Linked DNA regions of Homo sapiens: regions 1, 3 and 4 are each linked to region 2. Evidence: promoter capture Hi-C in 16 types of primary human blood cells and fetal thymus (Javierre and others, 2016). All regions are on one chromosome and are shown on one strand. The core of a region is centred on a gene start or on the middle of the fragment in contact, and the rest is flanking DNA. Distances in the headings are between cores, read along the strand shown.

The links. The method cuts DNA at HindIII sites, captures the fragments that hold promoters and counts their contacts. A CHiCAGO score of 5 or more calls a contact.
Region 1: a contact is called between a fragment that was not itself captured here and the fragment with the promoter of ONECUT2 in region 2, in 1 of 17 cell types (endothelial precursors). The highest score is 7.6, in endothelial precursors.
Region 3: a fragment that was not itself captured here is called in contact with the fragment with the promoter of ONECUT2 in region 2 in 2 of 17 cell types (M2 macrophages and megakaryocytes); the score reaches 6.0 in M2 macrophages.
Region 4: a contact is called between a fragment that was not itself captured here and the fragment with the promoter of ONECUT2 in region 2, in 1 of 17 cell types (endothelial precursors). The highest score is 6.4, in endothelial precursors.

What each region holds. Positions count from the first base shown.
Region 1 is chr18:56,879,956-56,882,692 of GRCh38, reverse strand. WDR7 (WD repeat domain 7) reads right to left here. Exons shown (of 28, transcript NM_015285.3): 21 at 2,528-2,737. Among named protein-coding and RNA genes, the nearest start is that of WDR7-OT1, 160 kb to the left of the region's middle. The HindIII fragment of the contact is 1,842 bases long and covers 388-2,229 here.
Region 2 is chr18:57,433,761-57,436,822 of GRCh38, reverse strand. It overlaps ONECUT2 (one cut homeobox 2), which reads right to left and starts at 1,449. Exons shown (of 2, transcript NM_004852.3): 1 at 1-1,449. The coding sequence starts at 1,106. RefSeq lists a silencer at 1,520-1,569 and enhancers at 1,563-2,142, 2,143-2,723. The HindIII fragment of the contact is 9,553 bases long and covers 1-1,833 here.
Region 3 is chr18:56,858,762-56,861,738 of GRCh38, reverse strand. All of the region lies in intron 20 of WDR7 (WD repeat domain 7), which reads right to left. Among named protein-coding and RNA genes, the nearest start is that of WDR7-OT1, 180 kb to the left of the region's middle. The HindIII fragment of the contact is 4,950 bases long and covers 1-2,977 here.
Region 4 is chr18:56,842,143-56,845,084 of GRCh38, reverse strand. The region is part of intron 20 of WDR7 (WD repeat domain 7); the gene reads right to left. Among named protein-coding and RNA genes, the nearest start is that of WDR7, 190 kb to the right of the region's middle. The HindIII fragment of the contact is 1,533 bases long and covers 519-2,051 here.

The DNA.
Region 1 (2,737 bases), core at 59-2,558, 550 kb after region 2:
AAAGGAATTGATTTCTGGGTGCTAAATTTGCTAATGAACTCCTTCCCTAAAACTGTGAGGGTAGAAATTTCCACTTCAAAGAAAATAATAAAGGATTTAAGATTTCTGATTTTTAATGGGAAGTTTGTTCAGGTATTTATTAAAAATTGATGATGATGGATATGAAATAGTTAAATATTCTACTGAATATATTAGAAAGAGCCATAAGTTTTATTTTTAAACATCAATATTCACAATCTCCTCAAGATACTGTGAAAATATATTTTGCAATTAAAAAGTTGTAGCTGTCAACATAAAATGTGCAAAGGATTAGACATTTCTTGACACTCTCAGGGAGTTATTGAGCAAAAAAGTTTGAAAGCCACCACACCAAATCATGTCAAAGCTTCATTAACCTCTAATAGTCTAATGCCAAACTTCTAAATAAGGACCTGCTCTACATATGTTAAGTCCTGGGCTGTCTGAAGTGACAGATAAGCTAGACTAATTAAAGAGCCCTTTGTAGAAATGGTGAGATTTAAGCAAGGTTTTAGGAATGGATAGCAGGGATCTTGAAGAACTTGAGAAAAGATAAATAAGCCCGAGTGGGGAGGTAGGAGCCAGTAAGCATGTAGTTGTTGGCCGTAGAGGGAGAGTAATGTGCCCAGGTGGAGAAGGGAAACGGTTCTCAGGTCGCAAGACACTTGAGTTCAAGTTTAGGTTTTACTACTTTTTGGCTGAGTCACTTTGAAGAAGTCTTAAGTTCATTTTGAAGATCAAATGAGGGGAAAGACAGGAAAGAAAGTGTTTTTTAAATTGTAAAGTTATAGCCAGGTGCAGTGGCTCATGCCTGTAATCCTAGCACTTTGGGAGGCTGAGGTGGGTGGATCCTTTCTGGTCAGGAGTTTGAGGCCAGCCTGGCCAACATGGGGAAACCCCGTCTCTATGAAAAATACAAAAATTACCCAGTCATCGTGGCCTACACCTGTAATCCTGGCTACTTGGGAGGCTGAGGCAGGAGGTTGCAGTGAACCAAGATCATGCCACTGCACTCCAGCCTGGGTGACAGAGAGAGACTCTGTCTCAAAAAATAAAATAAAATAAATCAATAAATTGTAAAGTTACAGCACATATTAGTCATTAAGCCCTTTCCAACTGGGAGCCACTGAATAGCAGCAGTTTGCATAATGGTCAAAAGCATGAACTCTGGAACAACAGACTAGATGGAAACAAAAACTCCTTTCCCAGAGGTATGATCCTTGCCAGGTTAACTAAACCTCTCTATGCCCCACCAGCTTTATGCATAAAATCGAGATAAGAGGGATCCACTTTACAGGGTTATTATGAGGATGAAGTGAGGTAATGCATGTAAAGAGCTAAAAAAAAATAGTGCTCATAATAGTTGCATCATTATGGTTGGTGGTGGTATTGTTTAAATTTAAACGTTATTACTCTGATTCTCAAACTGAGATCAAGAGATTATCACTAATAAGTATTTGTTGAATGAAGTCTTTCAAAAAACAGTTATAGGAGGGGCAGCTAAGTCTATTGAAGGGCTTTTATAATAAAAGTCACTAACATGGCCCTCAGTTTTACAGCAAGAGTATGTGGCAATGGTCCAGTGAAGTTCACTGCTGTCATAAATAACAAAGTAACATGCATCTTTTTCTCTTGCTTAAAGGCCAAAAAAGCAAAAGGATCTATTGCATTTTGTTCTACAAGAATATTTTGTGATGTATTCAGTTGGACTATATTTGTTCCTTAAGAGGACACAATTTATTAGAAATAATTTTGCTATATGGTGCCACATGCCACTCTGACCTTACTGAAAGGAATTCTGACACTGAAGAACCAAAAGAGCTTATTTTAAAGCACCCTTACCTATTATTAACATACCAAGCACAGAACCAAAGAGAGTAGAATGACACAGCCCTTTGAATTTTGATTGTTATAGTCTATAGTCATTTAAAAACTGTTACTGGAATATTTTTTAAATTACAGGGTTAATTCATAATTCATCATGTATGCTCTTTTTCATAAACCCATGTATTATTTATATGTATTATCACATATACAAATTTATTAATATGCCCATTAATTTAACAAATATGTGTTGAGAATTTATTTATTGAAAGGAGAATGAATATATTTTCTTTTCAAAAGAAAAGACTGGTGTTCCACCCCAGTCCTGACTTTTCAAACCACATTCAGAACAAACTGCATAGTTTTCCAGAAATTATTTTAAAAGCTTTAACTTGAATCTAGCTTTCATAAATTCTGGCTAAAATCTTGACGAACAATGCAAAAATACAAAGGTCAGAAATGTGTTATTTTAAGAATAGCATTTAAAAGACGATGTTTTAACTTTTAAAAAGGAGTTCAGGTTACTGTAACTAACGGGAAATGTGCCAGATTGTACTGCTTTCTAACTTCACGCAAGCAATCTAAATGAGCTAAAACTCAGGATATAGTCAATGTTATGAGATTTTGCTGACAAATAATATGTATTCAGAAGCAACAGATCAGCATTAGAAGTTTTAAAACTTACAAGTATGTCTGGCCAGCGAGTAGTTGGATCCACCACTAGTCAACCCGAATCCCTCAGGAATTTGGCTAGAGCTTCGAGGTCTGGTCAATAGTTTAGGAGGTTCAATTTCAGCACCAAATTCAGCTCCTATTACTCCAAGTAAAACAATAGCGGTAGCTTGCTTCCGTCTTTCCTCGTAAGATGTAGAAATTTTTTTCATTTGTGGGACAC
Region 2 (3,062 bases), core at 200-2,699:
GAGAGAGTCCCCTGAGACCGGCACAGCACCCTCTGCGCAAAGATCGCCTGGGGGATACTGTAGCGCTTCAGCTCCGCTGTGATGCGCTGGGCCACCTCTTTGGTGTTGATTTCTTCCAGCTGGCCCGACGTGGCCACCTGCGAGCCCGATGAGGACGAGGGTGGCCGCTCGCGACTGGGTGCCAGCACCGGCCCGTGAGACTGAGTGTGGCCCGGGTGGTGCAGGCCGTTCAGGTGCGACATCATGGCCGCAGGTGGGGTGCCCAGGCCGCGGGACAGGTGTTGCTCACCGCGGGTCAGCATGGCAGTGTGGTGCGCGTCGAAGTTGGGGCTGAGCATTTTGTCGTGGCCCGGCGGACCGTAGTTGGGCAGACTCTGCTGCGCGTTGTGGAGGCCGCCTAGCCCGTTGCCCAGCGGCGTGGCGGCCAGCGGGGACAGGCTCTGGCTCATGCCGGGCATCTCCTTGTAGGGACTGTAGAGGTTGTTCATGGCCGGGAGCCCGCGCTCGTCGCGCATGAGGGTGAAGCTGCCGCTGACGTTGCCGGACAGGCGCTGGTGGTGGTGGTGGTGGTGGTGGTGCGGATGGTGGTGCGGGTGAGGGTGGTGGAACTTGTCAGACACGGTGGAGATGGGTGGCAGCGGCTGGAGCGGTGTCAGCGTGGTGTAGGTGTTGCTCATGCCCATGCCAGGCGGAGACGAGTCGCAGGACATGCTCATGGCGTGGTGCAGCGGGATGGAGAGCTCGGGCCGGTAGTCGCCGCCGTCCAGGATCGAGGCCATGCTGGTGACCATGGCCGAGCGCGACGCCGCCGCTGCCGCCGCTGCCGCCGTGCCCAGCTCCTGGTGCGCGGTTGGAGGCGGCGGAGGGCCCCGCAGCGAGCCAGCGGCGCCGCGGCCCGCGTGGTGGGGGCTGGGGCTGGCCAGCAGCTCCTGCTCATGGCCCGGGCCCCCGCCGCCGCCCCCGCCGCCCCCGCCGCCGCCCCCGCCACTGCCGCCGCCGGCCGGCCCGTGCAAAGTGCCCAGACTTTCCATTGTCAGCTCCGGGTTCATGGCGCAGCCTTCTAGGTCTTTGGTGAGGCATCGATAGGCGGTGTAGGCAGCCTTCATTCAGTCCATCAGGGCCCGGGGGCGGCGGGGGCGGCGGGGGCGGCCGGCGGGCGGGCAAGGCGCGCGTGGCGGGGCTCGGCTGCGGGAGTGGGGGCGGGCGCGGGAGTGAGTGGAGAGGAGTGCGCGTGCGGGTGTGCGCCCCGGGCTGCGGGCGGGCTCGCCCGGGGTGGGGGCGGGGTGGGGGCGGACGGGGCGTGCGTGCGGGAGAGGGGAGGGGACGGGGAGGGAGGGAGGGATCACCGGGCCCCGCCGCTCGGGCCGGCTCGCAGCCTCGCCATGTCCGAGCCCGCTCCGGCGCCGACGTCTTCTGTTTGGGTGAGCGGGAGCTGTCCAGAAGGGCTCTGCCGCTCGCCGGGGCAGCCAACCTACCCTCCCGGACCTGGGGCGGGGCCACGCCCGACGGGCGCCAAGCGCAACCACTCCGAGGCCGCAGCTGCCCCGGGAGGCGGGCCTTCCACGGGAAGCTACCAGTGGCTGTGGAGGGGGCGGGGCCGCACTTTTCAGGTTTGGCTGACGGCTCGGTGCCTTTTTTACCTCCTTTGCTACTGGAATCAAACGTCAAGGAGAGGGAGGGAGGAGAAGGTGGGGGGGTCGCTGGGGAGAGGGAGGCTGGAGTGCGAGCGAGCGAGAGAGATTCGGTGAAAGATGCCGTGCTGTGTCCCCCCTGAGCAGCTGCGATCTGGGGGAAGGGGCATTGCTTCAATCGCCTTCGCCTCACCCCAAAGCTTTCCTGGAGGCGAGTAAGCCGGGAGCAAAAGACTCCGCTATGTGCCAGTATAGACAAACACTCGTCACTAACAAGCCACTTACCGAGAGTCCCTAGCTGGGAGCCAATAGTTTAGCCTTTTAAAATGCAGGCGCTAATGTATTCTAATGCATGGTAAATTCCCGAGGCCGGGACATGCATAATCTACGCGGTCAGAGCAACTGTAGTGCCCTCGTCGCCAGCGAGCTGCGGCCGGCCGGCGGCCCACGGGCGGCGCGGGCAGCAGTAATGCATGCAAAGTTAACACAATAACATCATTTAATTACCCGGTGAGCCCATAAATCTCAGTTATGAGGCTTCCGAAGAGCCCTGCTAGATTGCAAAACAAAACTAGAATTCCGGGAGCTGCCGTTTCAAGGTGACCAAGTGCTTTCTGCATCAGCGACTTGGAAAGAAGTGGGGAGAGTGTAGAACCGGTGAGGTGGAGGTGAGGAGGGTCGCTGGTGTCCCAAGTGAGCAAACTTCTCCTGGGGGCAGAGAGTAAGCAAACCAGCTGAGACGGCAACCACGGACCTTTCTCCTAACACGAGACACACACACGCGCACACACACACACACACACACACACACACACTCCCGCTTCTCTCAAATCCCGGGAGAGAAACGGCGGTGGGCAGACGACAAGGAATCCTGGCTGACACCTGCATATTCAAACCTTGTTTCTGAAAAGACCAGCGCCCCGGCCAGCCTGAGAACGCTCACAAGCCAAGGCTTTAAAAACCGCACCTACGTCTTCCTAGAATTTCCGTTGTTTGGCAACCCCAGGTCTGGAGGTGGGAGTGGAACTGGGGGACAGAGAGTTGGAGATTTCTGCAGTCCGAGTCGGGGTGGAGGGGTAGTTGAAGACAGAGAGGCCAACACCCGGCATAAAGCCTTAAACGTAACAAGATTCTTCCAAAGCAGGTTGCGCTCTGTTTGCCTCCGAAGATTCAAGCTAGCTGAGGTTGCGCAGATGTTGCCTTTGTTTAAAGAGACAGTAATTAAGGACAGGGTGGACATAAGTTTGAGAAGCGTGACCTATTTTCTTTTGATCAGCTGTCAAAAGAAGAGCAGGGGGTCTCCTTAAGACAGCCCCCTTCAACCACTTCCAGCTGTTAGAGAAAACTTGATAAGAAAACAAGGGCAGAGCTCGGAATACTGTATGTCCCTTCTTGGTGCCAGAGAAAGGTTTGATTCATTTGGAAAACAGT
Region 3 (2,977 bases), core at 448-2,947, 580 kb after region 2:
AACCTTAACATGCTGTTCACTCCTAAAGTGACAAATACAGAAAATCAGTGGGTTCTTGAAATATGCTACCAACAATCCTGTTCAGAAATGAAAGGCCAATACTATATTAAAGAAAAAAAAATGAAACCACAAATAAGTAACAGAATTATAGCAGGCCCTACAGTGTTGTAGAAGCTCAATACTCGACTGCTCTGCTGCTGGAACAACTCCAGAGAGAGTTAACCTGGTGTGATAAAAGACTTGACAAAGCAATTCTGACTGTGCAGCAATGCTAAGTTGTGGACTAATACAAGAACAGGAGGCCCAATCGCTGTCTTTCACCATGCACAATTTACACATGGCTTTATCAATAGCCTTAGTGCTGAATACAGAACACACTCTATTTGGCTTTCAGTCAATTAAGCCTTAAGCTGTCAGCAAACAAGACTTTTAAGTTAATTTTGAATCACCACGAATCAAGTTGAAGGTTGTGAAAGGGCGGCTCACACGCCGGCATGAAAAAAGGCAGTTTAATTGCCTCTGAATAGCTATTATATGCTGCAATTGGCCTATTGAATCTTAGATGATCTATTTATTTATCAAAGTGCAACCATCAAGGATTAGAAAAAGAATATAAACTGTACTTTCGCTGTTTCACGTAATTGATGTATTTTACAAAAGTATTTAAAAATTCATATTTTTAAAGCAGATTTTTTAATGTAAAACATTTGTGAAATAGAAAGCAAAACAGTTAACATAGAAATAGAGCAATTGTATTTCTAGAAAAACAAAGATATATTTTTTAAAAGATACACTTTTTACTATGTAATATTTTCATGTATTATATGATACAAACCAATGGTTTAGAACACATGTACTCCTTCATAAATATTTATATTGTAAATGTTCATGAAAAAAAAAGAGGCAGAAAAAGAATTATAAAATTGAGCTAAATCAGATTTTAAAACAACTTAATTTAACATTCCTTAGATTAACTGCATCATTAATTGTGTGAAGAAAAAGAACACCAAATACATCATTTTAATAAAGACATTTTTTTAACTAAGATTAAGGCTTAAGAAAATAGCATAATCAAATTAAAAGGATTATTATATTCCTAAACTGCATGATACTTATTTTCAAGAAAGACTGTGGTTGGTCACAATCCTAATGAGTTTTTTCCTGAAATTATTTTTTTCAATTGCATGAGATCTGGTTTATTATTATAGGGTTACTCATGAGTGCTGGATGTGTATATTGATTTTTTTATTAGAAGAGGGCACTGAAGCATTAGGTCAGTTGCGGGGAGGGAATGCTCAGATTTGTAAACAGATGTAAACATAGATCAAATTTAAGGATGGTAAAACTGAACCATTTTGCTTTAGCTGGGATGAGCTATGGTTCTTTTTTCACATTTTTACAAGTCAGTCTTTCAAGAGTAAATGTATTGAAGCATGCACTCATGATTACATAGGGAAATCATATGGAGATTAATGGCTATAAAGTATTAATGGTTATAAGAATTTAGATAGAATACGAGTTAATTTTAGTGTTCCCTCAAGAACAGTCACATATTCTTGAAAGCATGGGCCCATCATTCTGTGCTTCCAGTCAGCAGAGGCGATGGGCTTGGGAATCAGTACTGACTACCATCATTCCAGGAATTACCACACATTCGGGGGCTGAAATTCAATGAAAGAGTATGGAAACCCTTTCTCCTTCCCTCTTTTCTCATCCATTATTATAAAATACTTTTCTTGCATTTATATTCTCAAAATATCTTAGAATCATTTACTAGTTATACCCCACAAAAATCAATGCTACTAAAACCATAAAGATAAAGACATTAAAGGAGCGAATGCCTATATGACTTCCAAGGGAAACACAGGAAGGAAGCAGATGAAGTGTGAAGAGCCGGACTACCCGGGATAACACAAAGTAGAAGCCATATGAAGAAGGGATATTCTTCCTCATCATTACTAAGACGTGTTAACAAAAGACCTAAGTTCAATGGTCACAAATGTTCACTGCACATTTCATTTTATATTTGTGTATTTTATATATTTATACAAGACACAAGGTGTTCGAAATTATTTCGTTTTACTCATACAAACATCCATTTATTCAAAATGGGTGGGAAGGCATACTAGGGACTAATAACAGGGTTTCTGCCTTTTTGTACCTTACATTCAGGGGAGGAAGGCGAACACATAGACATACAAATTCCAAAGTATAATAATACTAAGAGCAAGCAAGAGAGTGACATAGAAAATAAGGCAGAAAACAATCAATTTTAGAAAGAAATCTCAAGGATAAAGAAGAACCTGAGGCACGGGTTGATAAGCTGCCCCAGTCTTGTGGCTAGGGAGTGGTGGGGCCAGGAGGCAAACCAGGCAGACCACCTCTAAAGCCAATGCTTTTACCTACTACCCTAAAGAAACAATAAAAATTAGGTATACTAAGGTGTAATAACCCTTTCCTCAAAGATATCAGAGCTTAATAGGAAAGTAAAGATAAATTAACAAATAACTGAAAACCAAGGAAGAAAGCAATACTTATCAATAAGCAAGGTCAACAACAATAAGAAAGTCATAGATATTCAGAGGAAGTTGACCTCAGTAGACAAAGGGGAGGACCTCACAACAGAAGTGTCACCCCAGAGAGGTCCCTAAATCCATTCAGATTTGACAAGAAGAAATAAGGGTGCACCTAAAGAATAAACCACAGCAGAAGTTGAATCCTATCCTGACCACCTCCCCTCATGGCCACCGTCTTCTTCATCTTTTGCTCTTCTCTAGTCTTTTGGCATAGCATCTACCATCTTCTAATATATTATAAAAAATACACTAATTTATTCTACTTACTGCCCCTCAACCCCTTCCCCCTGCAAGAAGGCAGGGGTTGAGACGACTTCTGTCATTTTGCTTGCAGATGTTGCTCAAGGGTTTAGAACAATGCCTGGCATGTAGGTGCTTAATAAATATTTGAATATTTGATG
Region 4 (2,942 bases), core at 36-2,535, 590 kb after region 2:
AGATATATTCCAAGTACCCCAGTGGATACTTGAAACCTCAGATAGCACCAAATCCTATATATGTTTTTTCCCTATACATACATATGATAAAGTTTAACTTATAAATTAGGCACAGAATGGCATTAACAATAACTAATGATAAAATACTACAATTATAATATACTGTAATAATTATATGAATGTGGTCTCTCTCTCTAAATATCTTACTGTATTGTACCATGAGTAACTGAAACTGCAGATAAGGAGGAACTACTATACCAGGAAAGAGTCTTTAAATCAATATAACTAGCAGGACAATTTTAAGCCTTGCTAGTTCCTCAGTTCTCATTATCTCTACCAACCTATGTGTGCATATTTCCCCTCTGATAAATCATTCATTTCTAGTGAACAGTAGCCTTTAGCCTTGTAAGGCCTTGTTTGAACCTTGTTGAATGTAAGGTTTCTCTATGGCTGCAGAGCGGTAGCTCTTTATTCTCTTACCATAAGCATTTAAAATTTAAAGCAATGAATTAAAAGCTTAAGCTCAAAAGTATAGCCCAAAATTATATTCTCTAAACTACATGTGAAAAGAATAACAATTTTATTTCAATTTAGAGTCTAATCTTTTTGTGACTGTCCTTAGTAGGGTGTAACACAATAAACACCATGGATCATTTTAAAAGCCACTCTCATATAAATGAAGTTGAGAAATTGTATACCAATGAGGAAAAATTTATTCTAATAATAGGACACTGAACATAAGCATCAGAAATGATGTATCTATTTTTTAAAAAGTTAAAGTAATGGTCAATAATTATTATAATGTTCTTTTGCCTCAGCATCACTAATCATTAGGGAAATTCAAATCAAAATCACAATGAGATACCTATATAACTTCACACTTCACGCTCATTAGGATTGCTATTATTTAAAAAAAAAAAAATAGATTGAGTGTGGTGGCTCATGCCTGTAATCCTAGCACTTTGGGAGGACGAGGCAGGCAGATCACAAGGTCAAGATTTCGAGACCAGCCTGACCAACATGGTGAAGCCCCATCTCTACTAAAAATACAAAAATTAGCCAGGCGTGGTGGTGTATGCCTATAATCCCAGCTACTCAGGAGGCTGAGGCAGGACAATTGCTTGAACCTGGGAGGCAGACGTTGCAGTGAACCAAGATTGTACCACTGCACTCCAACCTGGGCAACACAGCGAGACTCCATCTCAAAAAACAAAAAAAAAAAAAAAAGAAAGAAAAAAGAAAATATCGAGTGTTGATGAGGATGTGGAGAAACTGAGACTATAATGCACCGCTAGTAGGAATGTAAAATGGTACAGCCACTGTAGAAAACAGTATGACAGTTCCTCAAAATATTAAAGATAGAATGACCATGTATTACAACAAATCCAATCCTGTGTACCTAAAATAACTGAAAGCAGGGACTTGAACAGATAGTTCTATATCAATATTCATAGCAGCATTATTCACAGTCGCCAAAAGATAGAAGAAACCCAAGTGTCTGTAGAATGACAGATCCACTCTGTTGAATGGATCAACACAATTGTAAGCTCCTGACACAAGCTCTAACATGGATAAACCTTAAAGCCACTATGCTAAGTGAAATAAGCCAGACACTTATTTGATTCCACTTATATGAACTACCTACATTAGCCAAATTCATAGAGACAGAAAGCAGAACAGTGGTTGACAGAGGATGGAGGCAGGAAAGAATGGGAAGTTAGCATTCAATGGGTATAAGGTTTCACTTTGAGAAGATGAAAAAGTTTCGGAGAACGATTGGTGGTGATGGCTGAACAACAATGTGTACATACTTAACACCGCTGATTTGGCCACTTAAAAATAATTTAAATGGCACAATAAAGAAACTTTCACAGTTTAAAAAAGTGATCTAATGCCCAATTTTCAATAGCTAGACAGCTGAAAGAGGCAAATATTCATTTAATTAACATCATTAATGGATTTTTGTAAGAAAGGGGACTTTCAACATCAAAATTCATTTACTTCTTTTCATCTGTTCAGAGGTAACGGGATGAATCACCAGAATCAAAGCTTCCAGCTGCTTATAGCACTAGTTTAAAATTAATAGTCTTACAGCAACAACATCAAATGCCAAAAAAAAAGAGAAGCAATAGGCAGCAGGTTAATTCTTTTTTGGTGTAAAATGTCTGTAATTTTCTAGTAGCACATAAATGTGTCACTGTTTTGGTCTGCAATGTCTCTTCTCTCCCCAAAATTCTGACAGTATGGCTCTAAAGCTAAAAGTATATAACCAAATTAAAAGCTATCAAAAATCTTCAAATAAAGTTTTTCTAAAACGTTAAAATACTTCCACGGTAATTTAGTAGTTTCCTATGTGCATTTGCCATTGATCACTGTGTGTGTGTGTGTAAGAGAGAAAACATGAATAAAACACTAAAAGGATGTTATATTTAGCATACTTCAATGGGAATTTTGAATAGGCTATACCGAAGTACTACGAATCCTTTACTTACAGTCTCCTATACAATAGACTGTCAAGTGCTTAGAATCAGGGAACAACCTTATACCTTTCTGTTTACTGTAATATCAAACCTTGCAACATGGCGTCAGTCCTTGCTATTGTTTGAAATGTACTTAATCCCCAATGCAACAGTGTTGAGAAGTGTGGGACCTTTAAGAGATGATTAGATCATAAGAGCACTGCCTTAGTGAACGGACTAATGCTGTTATTGAGAGTTGGTTCCTGAAAAAAGGATGATTTGGTCCCCCTCCCCCGACCCTTACATGCACACAGGGGAACTCTCTTGCTCTTCCGCCTTCTGAAGGAATGATGTAGCAAGAAGGCCCTCACCAGATGCAGACCCCTTGACCTAGCCTCCAGAACCAAGAAATAAGTCTCTATTCTTTATAAATTACCCAGTCTCAGGTATTCAGTTACAGCAACACAAAAGGGACTAAGATAG